2 separate regions of the Homo sapiens genome follow, and region 2 is linked to region 1. Evidence: promoter capture Hi-C in 16 types of primary human blood cells and fetal thymus (Javierre and others, 2016). All regions are on one chromosome and are shown on one strand. The core of a region is centred on a gene start or on the middle of the fragment in contact, and the rest is flanking DNA. Distances in the headings are between cores, read along the strand shown. Region 1 holds the start of ZC3H12B (zinc finger CCCH-type containing 12B). Region 2 holds the start of LOC128031833.

The links. Contacts are between HindIII fragments. The CHiCAGO score rates a contact against its expected background, and 5 or more counts as called.
Region 2: a contact is called between a fragment that was not itself captured here and the fragment with the promoter of ZC3H12B in region 1, in 1 of 17 cell types (fetal thymus). The highest score is 8.0, in fetal thymus.

What each region holds. Positions count from the first base shown.
Region 1 is chrX:65,032,516-65,039,141 of GRCh38, forward strand. ZC3H12B (zinc finger CCCH-type containing 12B) reads left to right here and starts at 2,311. Exons shown (of 10, transcript NM_001010888.4): 1 at 2,311-2,754. It also overlaps a transcript of ZC4H2 not described here. RefSeq lists silencers at 2,339-2,488, 2,549-2,778 and an enhancer at 2,879-2,938. The HindIII fragment of the contact is 4,649 bases long and covers 1-2,847 here.
Region 2 is chrX:63,748,799-63,755,296 of GRCh38, forward strand. All of the region lies in intron 1 of ARHGEF9 (Cdc42 guanine nucleotide exchange factor 9), which reads right to left. It overlaps LOC128031833, which reads right to left and starts at 5,866. Exons shown (of 1, transcript NM_001414729.1): 1 at 5,687-5,866. The coding sequence starts at 5,866. The coding sequence ends at 5,687. RefSeq lists an enhancer at 6,211-6,498 and a silencer at 6,365-6,498. The HindIII fragment of the contact is 644 bases long and covers 4,927-5,570 here.

The sequences.
Region 1 (6,626 bases), core at 1,061-3,560:
TTGTAATATATATTCCCTATGTTATGGTCTTCCACATTGGTTCCAGCTTGTTGATGATCTCCAATCTGATACTTCTACTTAATTAGTTCTAGAGTGATTCACTCTTTTTCGCCTTTCCAATTGTTCTTCTCTTTCTTCAGTACTTTTTGGCTGGTCTGTATAAAGTTTCATTTTAGTTTGACAGTCCATTTGAGCTCTCCTCTAATGTTTCTTCTTTCTTTCCTTCCTTCCTTCCTTCCTTCCTTCCTTCCTTCCTTCCTTCCTTCTTTCTTTTTTTTGGGGGACGGAGTCTTGTTGTGTCGCCTAGATGGAGTGCAATGGTGCCATCTCGGCTCACTGCAACCTCCACCTCCTAGGTTCAAGTGATTCTACTGCCCCCGCCTCCCAAGTAGCTGGGATTACAGGCAAGTGCCACCACGCCTGGCTAATTTTTGTATTTTTAGTAGAGGAGGGATTTTGCCATGTTGGCCAGGCTGGTCTTGAACTCCTGACGTCAGGTGATCTGCCCACCTCGGCCTCCCAAAGTGTTGGGATTACAGGGGTGAGCCACCATGCCTGGCCCTCCACTAATGTTTCACTGGCACTTATTATAGGGCTTCTTAAAGTTCTTACACATGGCATAGCTATTTTTACACTTTCTAAAATGTTTAAATATTTTATTAAATAAACATCCAGCAGGGCACATTTTGTAAATATGTTTATACATTGTATTAAGTTTAATACAGAACCTCTAAACCTAATTTCAAAAAGATCAAGTAAATAAGCCCCTAGAATATCACACAAGTTTGTACGTAGCCATTGCCTACATGTCAATTCTCAGTGTCAATATTTTAAAATTAAAAAGTGTAGTTTTAGAAGAATCACTGGATATTTACATGTTAATTAACTGGAGGGTTTATGCAGATTTCTTACCCAGGTGAACCTTTGGGAAATATGTCTAAGCACTTTATAGATCTAGATGTGTCTCAGAAAAGGTAAAAACTGGTCTGTGGCTGGGTGCCTAAGGGGGTGTGGAAGGAGCTAGGGCTAGAAAAATAGAGGCAAGATCTTAGAGGACTTTGAATGTTAAGCTAGGGAATCTGTATTTTCTCCTTTATTATAGATAATGAATCTATTGAAAAATAACTCCAATTTTTACTAAGCGCTTACTCTGAGCCACAGTAAGTTATGTATGTTAAGTGCTTTACATTCACTTTTCCATTTAATCCTCATAACTACTCTATAGGTATTATAATTATCCCCATTTTACTGATAAGGAAACAGATTTAGACAGGTTAAGAATCTTAGCTCAGGCCGGGCACGGTGGCTTACGCCTGTAATCCCAGCTCTTCGGGAGGCGGAGGCGGGCGGATCACTTGAGGTCAGGAGTTCAAGACCAGCCTGGCCAACATGGTGAAACCCCGTCTCTACTAAAAATACAAAAATTAGCCAGGCATGGTGGCTTGCACCTGTAGTCCCAGCTACTTGGGAGGCTGAAGCAGGAGAATTTCTTGAACCCAGAAGTAAGAGATTGCAGTTAGCTGAGATGGCGCCACTGCACTCCAGCCTGGGCGACAGAGTAAGACTTTGTCAAAAAAAAAAAAAAAAAAAAATTCCTAGTTCAAGGAAACAGAGCTACTTGGTGGTGGAGCAGAAATTCAAACTTGGCTGTAATTTCAAAGCCCATTCTCTAAGCCAGAAGGAAGTGAGATTAGATTTTCATTTGATCACTGGTAGAAGTATGAGAACAAATTGCAGAAAGACAAGTCTAAAGGCAAAGAAACCAGAGAGTATGCTGTTGCAGTAGTCAAGAATTGTTAGGCCCTATTAAGGGAGGTGACCCTTAACCACCTGAGTTATGCAGACGAGTGACATAGTCAGAGAAGTTATTTAGAAAATTACCCTGGCAGCCCTTGTGAAGGATGAATTGGAGGAGCCAAGACAAATACGTAGGCAAATAAAATAAAAACAAATAAAAGACAAATAAAAGGCAGTGAGACAAGTAGTGAGGTTGTTGGGACTGTCACTCTTAACCGCAGAGGTGCCTGTCGAGGGGCTGGGAGACGGTCGTATCCCAAGTCCTCGGGCCTATCGAATTGCAGAGCATCCTGGACCTCTCCTCACCCACGCTTACCTTCACGTCGCTCCTTCTAGGCCTTAGGAAGTGGGGTTTTGAGCACTTTCTAGGTCGTAGGCCTGCTGGTCTGAGCTCCGACAGCGGCGCCAGCGGTGGCAGCAGTCGCCGACAGGGGTGGGGCGCATGCGCACAGTTGCTAGGCAACGGCGGCCGGGCGCCGCGGCGATAACCGCGCCGGGGCTGTGTGTGTAGGCAGAGGCGCCAGAGGAGGAGGAGCAGGAGGATGCAGCTGCGACCGCGGCCCCAAGAGGGAGCCGCCGCTGCTCTGTGGCCAGGGGGGCCCAGGGACTGGAATCAGGCCTGGGGGTCGCATCGCTGAGGGGACTGGTAACGGCGGTCCCTCCAGAGGCTCAGGCCTAGTACCCCAGGAGGGTCCGGGCCGCTGGGCGAGCGCCTTCCCCCCATCGCCTCCCCTCGTCCCTCCACGTCGATGGTGGTGAAGTTGGCGGCGCCACGGAGCGCAAGGCACCAAGCTGTCTCCCTTGCACCCAGCTCCTCTCTGGCCCCGGCTGTTGGACACCTGCGCCGCCGCCTTCTCTCGCCCGCCGAGCCCACCCCCTGCGGCGGGCGGGGGAGGGGCTCCCCCCTGCAGGGGCTGCGTCGAGCAGGGCGACGACGGGGACCATAGGAGAGTAGGGGTGAGTAGTGGCACCGCACTCGCTCGGTTCTAGTGCGCCTTTCCGGCCTCCGTGGCCCCAGGAGGCGAGCGAATCGCTGCTTTCTCCTGCAGAAGCTTCTGACGCCTCTCCCACATCTGCTCGCGGCTCTCTATTCCCTTCGAGGTAGTTTTCCTTCTCATAGCCACCACTTTTTGGTCTCAACCCTGGCGTCCAGGAATGCGGGGTGGGTGCTTAAGGCCTGGCTTTGCTTCTTAGATGCCATAGATGCTGATAATTCTACGTACAGTCACGCAGCCTGATTCCTGATTCGTGGACAGACTCTCCCAGTGCCGTGCTCGCCCCTTTCCCCTCGCTCTGGCTCTGGCTCTCGCTCTCTCAGGAGGCTCAGCCTGACCGCGGGCTTCTCAGGAGCCCATTCCCCGGGCTGCTGTCGCTCCATGCCTCAAGGTTTGAACACATAGCTGGAGTGGCCCCTTACTTTTCAGTGTTGTTGCTACTCGTGTGCTAAGACCTCCCGAAAGCCTTGTGCCTGGCTTCTGACTCCTGACATGTACGTTAGGAAGATAGTACTTATATTAAATAATAAAAATAATAAAACAAACACACACTCCATTTGACTTCTAAAGTGCTATCAAACTTGAGAAGTAGGCAGAATGGCTGATTCATAATAGGGGAAACTGGTTTTACAAACTACTTTTCATCCAGAATGGCATACTTCTTTTTTATTATAAATACGATGATGAAACCTAAAATATCCCCAATAAAAGCGAGGATGGGTTGTGATATATCTGTTCTTCCTGAGGTAGCCTGCAGTTGAAGATAGTCGGTTCCAGAAAACATTGGCATGAGGCACCGGAAGTGATATTCTGGACAAGGTGATTAGATGAGGTTCTAAAGTTGTGAGGTGCTTTTTTGAAAATTAGCAACATTATCTTTGATGAATGAGGTTGTTTTCTTAAAAGTAAGTGGTTGAAAAAACTTACAGTCCACAGATGACACCTATCAAAAGCATACTGAATTTAGATTAGTAATTTTGATTGTAAGATAGTTCTGTGAGCAGACAAAAGATGGGTTCTTTTCCCTCCCTATTGGTTTTTAAGCCATTTCAGGTTTCGTTTATCTGATAAGACGTGGCGAGAGAGAAGCGTAATAATGGAAAAGCTAAATTTTCTTTTTTTTGTAAATGCTTTTGAGCTAAAGATTTTTAAAAAGGATATATAGATGCCATTTATGATTAAATTTATTGGGTGAATCTGTCAAGACCGCAAACTTTGTTAGTTTGGGGTAAAATGCTTTGCTTTGGGAGCTTTCATGTTGTTTGAGGTTCTTTGGGGGTATAGTTTAAATTAAAGCACAATATAATTCTAGTACCACTGCAAAATAACCTCAGAGAGTATTGTTTGTTTTGTGCATTAGCAAGCTGACATGCTTCTAGTTGCTAGATTCCAAAGGTAATTTTTTTTTTGTTTTGGAAAAGCTTTTGATGAATTTAAGTCTGAATTATTTGAAATAATAGTGTATCATATGAATACTTGCTCTTCACCTTCACATACTTAGAGAACCCTGCAGTAATTTGAATCCAATCTAGTATTCCATTGAAGTGAGTATGACTATGAAGATGCCGCATACTCTTAAGAGCATTTACCTAGGGTGTCGTAATCACATTATAAAATAAAATTGATGGCTTATTTTGCAAATGCTATCAAAGCACTTGTTCAGTGAACTCTGGAATGAAGTTTTTTTTTTTTTTTAAAGTGACTTTCAACAAGTTTTTATTTTCTAGCTTCTAATGAATGCCTACTACTATACCAGGTATTGTGGAGAATAGAACAGAAACAGCAATTTACCAGTTGGGTAAATTGCTTACCCAATGGTAAATTACCGATGGGTAAATTGCTTAGCCATTGGAAAAAGGAAAATACATATATGAGACACCATGGTCAACAATTGGAACAGAGTCATATTGAATAAGGACTGAAAGAGTTAAGAGTAAAGGGAGAATACTGTAGGCTGGATTTTTCTGAGAAAGCTTTGTAGAGAAAGTCATACTTGATTTGGCTCTTAATAGAAGTATAAGCTTTCTTAGAAGGTGGAAGAGTTCAGCATAGCATGAGCTAAGGCACTTGATTTTCTAATCCTTTTGCATATTTTCTCCTAGGTAAACCTAAAGGAGAAGAGGACTGTCAGTGGCAATTAACTTCTTTGTAGTGGGCATAATTTTCTATGATAAACTACATACTAAATTAACAAATTAAATATAATTTCACAGATATACATGCTATAGAAATCAGGCTTTAAAATAATCATCCTATTTCCTGAGGCAAGTGAGAATGTTTTCTAAGCAGATATAGGTAGAGTGTTAAGTTCACATGTTTTTGTAACCTGTACATTTTTTTTTACTGTCTATTAAGAGACAGTTATATTCTAAGTGTTTCATACAACACTGGTCTGATAGTACATTAGATTATTAATATGCTCCAAAGACTATTTCTTGATAAAATAAATTAGGGAAATTTTATAAGCAACATTCATTTTGATTCATTAGTATATGATAACTTAGTTTTTAGTACTACATTTAGTACTGCTATTGCTACCATTTTCTGAAAACAAAGGGAGGGGTATGTCAGAGTCCCACAAATTCATATCTGTCAAAGTTCTAATATCATGTTATTAATGTATATATTAATAATTGACAACATCAATGTTTAAACTGCAATTACAAACCTCTGCAAAGCTTATTTTGGTACATTTCTAACAACCTTCCGCTATATTGAAAATTAGTCAGATGACTAATTGTCTCCTAGGTTTTAGTCAGCCATTGTAAGTTGACATTTACACAGAAAAATAACGAGGTATGGAGTTATTCCATCCGTAGAGAGGTATGTCTCCTAACAGAAATTCACATATTAGAATTCCAAATATAAAGAATTCACAGATTTACTCTGAGGAACAATATACTCAAACTTGAAATTTTTGAGGCTTTATACACCTTCTGTACCTTTTTTTTGGTATCTTTTGCTGCCAGCAGTAGTCTTCTTTGATTAAAGTTAACTTTAATTCACAGTAGCTAATAGTTTCTAGGCTCAACAAATATAATTGTTATTTTGAACATCCTCTGCTTAGCACATTAGCTATTAAATAAACAAGTTATTAGAGAACAGAATGGCTTATCTGGACACAGTCAGCAAATAGCTATGATTATTGCTGGAAATTAACCAGTTAACAGATAGCAAAATATATGGAGAAGGCATTGGAGTAAATCATTTTTGCTAAGTAACTATTGTACATTTCTGGTCTTATGACAGTATCAAAGGGATGATCTTTGGAAAGAGGAGGGAAACTGCCAAGAAAATTAAAATTACCTCGTATGTCAAATTGTAAGTACTGTGGCGATTTAAGGCAGGTACACATGTTAGTTAAATTGCTAAACCTCAGTGGTGGCAGCATGTAAAATAGGGTAAAGAACTGTCAGTCTCTGTTAAGTAACATAGGGTCATTCTCAATATTTTTACCTAATGACTGAGTCTGGAGGTAGGACAGTATTACATTGAGTACCACTGATGCATCTATAAGTTATAATTTTCCTTAAATACGTAGTTTTAAAAGAATTACCATATGCTAAACTATGATCTTTATTATATCATTGGACTAAAAATTTTCCCAGCTGAGCACAGATCTCTCAATTGTATGATGGAAGTTTATGAGATAAATGTCTTTTTCCCAGCAATTCTTTTTAAGAGCAAGTTTTCCTGGAGCATAGCATTTTTTACTAAGTGAAAGATACCTATAGCCAATTCAATGTAGGAAAAAAAAAAGTGGAGACTACCATTCCTTCTTAAAGTGTGGTATCCACAAAGAAAATAAATCAAACACCTTCATATATAAGTTGT
Region 2 (6,498 bases), core at 3,999-6,498, 1.3 Mb before region 1:
GAGAATCAGTAGAAGGCTGCATTATTAGACATTTCACAGACAAAACAAAGTTCTTTTGCACTTGATCTCAGTCAGGTGGCACCTAGAGTAGCATGAACAGTTCTAGGCAGCAGATTTTTAAAGAAATATAGAAAAATAAGTGTGCTTCAAAGAGAAGAACAATTGTATTAAAACTACAGTTCCTTGAAAACATTCTGTATTTTAGGCTTCAGCAATTCACACTGGCCTCTCACCTTGAAGATCCCAAATAGTGAGTTTTCATAAAACTAAACAGAACTCTTTGATGCATATTCAAGACAAAAAGGCATTTTATAGAATGAAAATTCTGAGCAAAAGTGCTATACAAATGAAAGTTATTAAAAATGTGAGTAGCTGAGGAAGCTAGTATGACTTCAGGGATGACTCCCAAATCTCCTTTCTTTCTTTTGTTTCCTTTTCTTTCTTTTTTTTTGGGACGGACTCTCGCTCTGTCACCCAGGCTGGAGTGCAGTGGCATGATCTCGGCTCACTGCATCCTCCGCCTCCTGGGTTCAAGTGACTCTCCTGCCTCAGCCTCCCAAGTAGCTGGACTACAGGCGTGTGCCACCACGCCCGGCTAATTTTTGTATTTTTAGTAGAGACAGGGTTTCACCATGTTGGCCAGGCTGGTCTCGAAATCCTGACCTCAGGTGATCCACCGGCCTCAGCCTCCCAAAGTGCTGGGATTACAGGCGTGAGCCACCACGTCAGGCCCTCCCTCCCTACATTCAACATCACACTAGTTAGGAATGACCAACTCTGACTCTCCTCTCTATTTGAAAGGCAGACCCACTCCCATCCCAACAATCTTGCTGACCTTTACTTTCCTCATCTGTAACACTGGGAATTACAATCATCTCTACCCACTTCACAAGGCTGATGTGATGCTCAAGTTAGAAAGGATGTGAAATTCCTTCATAAACGCTATAGGCCCGTGCACTGATAAGGAGTTATTAGTATTGTCATTACTGGACTGCTTCCTGAGCCTTCTCTCCCCTCTATGTTCTTCCCCTTCTAGTTTTTCCTCTTTGTACTTTCGTGCTAGAGCAAAGTACAATAAACTAAATACTCTATGGAGCTAGATCCACCTAAGACAGAAGGAGACACTCTGAGCAGATACTGGAGAAGCTAAACCTTCATCAAGGATTCTTGGAAAGCCAGAGACTCAGTTGGCCTAGAACAAGTTGCAGAGCTGGAAATAAGAGCTAGAGAGTCCAAGATTCCCCTCCTCCATCCCATTTCTTGGGGCAAAGCCACTGGAGCAAGATCCAGATGCCTTGTAGGAGGTCTTCTGAGGAGGCAGTTATTTTGGGAGAAAAGGCTCAATTCTTATATCCCTGCCCAGAGCAAGCACTCTGCAGGTCAAGGGACCAGAAACTGAGATGGCAGACAAAGGCTAAAGAGGAAGACATGCTTTGTTACCATCCTTCAAACCACCAGACTGTGCCCTCTGGTTGCTCTCAATCTGGGCCTTACCTCAAGGGCAGAAGAGCACCTCACCTACAGCCTTTTTGGGATCTTTCAGCTCCCTAGTAGCTGAATCACACACACACCGGTGGGTGAGAGTCTCTGAGCCAGGGTCCAAGCCCTGTTTACCAGCTCCATTATCAAACTTGCTCTTTCAACTTGTCCAGCCTCCCCCGTCAGAAACTACTACACCAAAACCACAGAAAGAAAAATTCCCAAATTCTATAAAGCTAGGCTGATCAGGATTCCCCAAGCCACAGACAAAATTGGGGCACACTGCACAAGCACACTGCAGGTTCTGACAGATGGAGGCTGTCTCAATGGAAGAAGAATGCTGTTCAGTTTGTTCCCACCAAGATATCACTTCACCCCCTCCCTGATGCAGCCAAAAGTTAGGGTGAAAAAAATTGTTTTTTCAGGACCGGCAGAGCTTCTGGCACTAAAGCTAGGCAGTAAAATGGCACAGTTAATCTTAAGGAGATGGGACTGACTAGAAAGGAATTTGAAACCAGGAGTTTTCTAATAAATAATCTCATAGCTGGACGAGGCTAGGCTCTACATGTCTGCTGTGGACATGTTTCCGAGGCATTTGCAGGAAATTGGGATTCTGTTCTTTCTTTGTTCCCTCCCCAAAAGCATCTCTCCAAGTCCCACTAGGCTCTAGTCCCCTTTTTCTAGAGTTATTGGTGCCTGGGCCTTTAAAGGGTGGGCTCTGGAGCTCAGTGGGTGCTCAGTGATACAGGGGTTGCTAGGATACCAGTAGAGGGCATTTTCTTTAATTCTTTGATGGGGATCCAGGAGCGAAAATCCCTAAGCTGGGATTTTGCCCCTCCTACATGGCAAAAGCTTATCCTCTACTCAAAGGGGCCAGAGAGGAGGGAAGGGAATGGAGGAGCTTTATTGGGAAAAGTTGGGACAAATCAGAGAGGAAAAGTCCTCTTCTCTTTTTTACTTCTCACCCATTTACAGTGGGGAGGTGGGAGGAGGAGGTGGTGTCAGGGGTGGGAAGAAAGGAAGAAGGAGAAAGATTAAGAGAGAAGGCAGAGGAGGAAGGAAAAAAGAAGACAAGTCAAAATGCATAGGGTTCCGCTTCTCTGGGCTGCATTTCTCATTTTCTCCCACTCTTTTCTCTTTTTGCTAGAGAAAAATATCCTCACAAGTCTGAAGCAGAAATGCCAAACCTTTAGGATTCACACAAGTAAAAAGTCACACTGCTACCTTTTGTTCTCTACTCTCAAATTCCCTTCTGGTTGCTAGATGGTGGCCTGCCATCTGGCTAGCAACATCCCTTTATTTGCCTGGAGACAATTTTAAAAGCGCTAACCCATTTCAACAGCTAAATTACTAATGGAAGGGCTCATTCAAGACACCTCCTTAGCCTGAGGGGTTTTAGGTGGTGAAAAGAGGAATGGCATGGGTGATACCCATCCATCCCAGCATTTGTGAAATCCTTATAGGTCCTAGCACAAGGAGGCTATTCAGAACTGTGGAACTCAATACTGTCTTTCTTCATTCCTACCACCACACCCCGCATCCACACTCAGGAGTGTGCTCCCCCCCACACACCCCCATGAACATACTGCCACACACCCTACACACACACATACATTCCCAGAGGCTTTCTGCCAAAGGTCTGTCAGGCTCACAGAGGAGAAGGCATTTCGTGACACTATTTAAGTCATAAACCTAGATCAAAGACTAGTCTCAGAGACCCCTTCTCCCCTTGGGGGAAAAAAAGTCAAAAAGCATTCCCTTATTGCTGTCCCAGTTTCCTTCCCAAATAACTAGGCAAAAAAAACCCCTTCGCTTAAACTTGTTATCCAGGCTGTAGTACCAGATATCCTTCCCCTCCTCCCATCACCCTTTGATTAACATTTTCTTTTCCTTTTCACTTGTCTTTCCAGCTCATCCCCCCCACCCCCCACAACTTCAAGTGTCTAGGGGTCATAAAATCATAAAATGCAAGAACTTGGAAGTCACCTAGTGGAGCCATCAAAAAATGCCAATGTTACTGGGAATCCCAAACCCACCGAGGAGGAAAAAAATTGTCCAAGGTCAAACAGCTGCTGAATGGAAAAAACAAAAAACAAAACAAAACAAAACAAAAAAACAGGTCTGCAGCTGCCCAGCATAGAGCCATTCCCCACTCTCCAACACTGTATCAAAACAAAGTGCCCAGAAAAGATATAAGCTTACTTTAAATAATACAATGAAGCTAAGGGGGGAAAAAAACTCACTAAATTATCTTTGCAAAGAAATAGGTTCTCAGTTCCATCCAGGGGGTCTCCACAAACGGACCAAAGAGTAATTAATAAGAACCAATGCCAGCAAACCTCCCAGATCATGTTTACACCATGGTACTAATCTCACAAAAACCTCAGCTTCTCACCCACACCAAGTCAAGGATAGCATGCTTTGAGGCCCAAAACACCCTCTGACGCCATTAAATAATACTCTCTGGGTCCTGTGGCCAAGACAATTTCAAAGGCCCCCTTCACAGCCCCTCTCCTTTCATAATCATTTCCAAAGAGACTGAACAACCGGACATGGAACTTGACAGCATAATGCCAGCAGATTTGCACATCAGACATGAACAGCCACCCACATGGGTGGAGGGGGAGCATGTGTGTAGATGTGTATGTGTCCTGATTCACTGCTATAATACATGAGCCATAAATGGCATTATTTCAAGCCAGGTAAGCAATGGAATGGGGAAAGCCTGCCTACATTAACAGGGGAGAAAGAAAATCAAAACGCAAAAAAACAAGTATTATACAGACTGGCATGAGACATTTTTTTTCCTGGCTCTGCCAAGAGCTTTCTCAGAGGAAACAGAAATATAAAAATAATAGCAATAGCAATAACAACAGAAACCACCACCACCATCTGATACAGACAAGCAGTCATATCTCAAACTGGAATGTTGCTTCCAGCTCATGTTTTCCATGCTCTCATCCCTTTCCTTCTAGACGTTTTTGGGTTTTGGTGGTCAAATTTAGCACCAAAATTTGATAACTCTTAATTTAGCACATTACAGACTTTCAGTTTGTTATGGGAATGTTTCAATTACAGAGACCTCTGATCTTAAAGTAACAAACGGGAGCAAACAATAGCATCACCACTTTCTCATCAGCCTTATCAAGTTACATTTAAAATGTAGTTCAAGAACATCATTGCAAACGAGATTATCCCAAAGGAGCCATATCCAAATACTATTATTCCCAAGGTGGATAAAGAGCTGTTTTTTCTTTCTTGTGGGGTTTTTTTTTTTTTTTGATGAGACAAACAAAATCCCCAAACTCAAATCCAGGGGTACAATCTTTGGGAAAGGGAGCCCAAATAGCTCCTGTCAAAGTCCTCTCTTGCCAGTTCAAAAAATCAGAGAATGCTTTCACATACTATTTCATGATTCCAAGGAAATTGACATTTTAAATATCTTAAAGCTTTAAGGTTCAAGAAGTGTTTTAAATGTGGCTTCTTTCAAAATTGAAAATTGTGAACCCTGGAGAGCAAATTGAGATTCAAAGGACACAGTCACCAACTGCCAGCACAACACACCCGTGTCACTTCCCAAATTCTTGCTTCTCCTTAGACACTAAAGAAGCATTTTCCCTAAATCCATTCCTTGCATCGATTATTTTCCCTCTAAATATCCACTGCAAAGACTGTCTTTCCTATGATGTCAAATATTCATCATGCTCTTCCACAAACCCTTTTCCCCTCAAACAAACCCAAATGCACTCCTGATGGCAAGAGAGAAATTTTGACTAAAATTCCCTGATGGAGTTTAAAGGTAGTCTTCAAGGAAATGAGTTAAGACACCACAGACAGCAAAGCCACTGTTTAAGGACGCAGAGCTTGCTCCATGAACGCCACATAGATTAAAAATGCACACACGCATGCACACTTAAATAGAAAGCATTTCTTCATCAACAATTTCACTCAAGCAATAGGCAACTATACGCGCAGGCATTCTTAAAAGACAAGACACGACAAAAGATTTAGGGAGAGATAATATACCAACGTCATACATATCACAGCGAGGCCATGTTGAAGCTCAAAACGTTTTCCCCCCTGAGTAAGAAAGCTTGTTCTTTCTCTCTCTTTCCCTGTCTCTGTCTGTGATTTTTTTTTTTTCTCGGTGGCTCTCGGGATGAAATCAAAGCGAGAGTTCGCGACAGCTCAGGTGGCTGGACTCCATTCAGCGCGTTCCCAGGAAAAACATGAGTATGACATTGACAAGCAGGAGGACTACAATCACGGCAAAAACGACTACAGTTTGCACATCCAGGGTCATGGTGCAATGCAGAACACTGTAGTGTTCCAGGTGGGGGGCCGGCAGATTGGGAGATGTCAGTCTCTGTTCTGTCAGACTGTCCATACAGCCACCATGCTAGAAAGGAGAGGAGGAAGTAGGGTGGTTAGAGAAGGGCTGGGTTTGGCGCCCGAGTTTAGTCGGGGGAGGGGAGGGGGATGGGGACGGGGTGCTTGGTTCCCCCCTTCTCAGGATTGGGCTGATCGTTTGTCCCTAGCTGAGAAATCTTAGCTTGCGCTGAAGTCGGCAGAGTCCAGCATTCTCTCTCGGGCGCCACGGGAAAGGCAAAATCCTAGCTTTCAAAGGGAAAGGCGGGGGGAACCTGTGAGTGGTTCTCCGGCGCCTGCTCAGTCTGTCCGGGCGTGCGTCCGTCCGCCTGCCTGGCTACCGGTCAGTCTCAGTCTCCCCTACTCCCTTTACTTCGCTCGTTTTCCTAAGCTTGCTCGCTCTCTTCGCTGGGCTCCCGGCTGCCAGACACTCGTTCGATCCCTGCCTTGCTGGCCCTATCCCTCTTCTCTCCCCATCCCCCGCTCAGCCCATAGGCTGCCTTTTTATTCACCGAGCGACTGCGGGCGCTTGCGTGAGGCGCGGCCAGAGCCACTGACATACCCGCCGACCAATAACAGATGCCGCAGTAGCACGTTCGCTGCCCAGGGGCGGGACTTGCGCTGGCGTGCTAGCCGCGACCGCCAATCAGA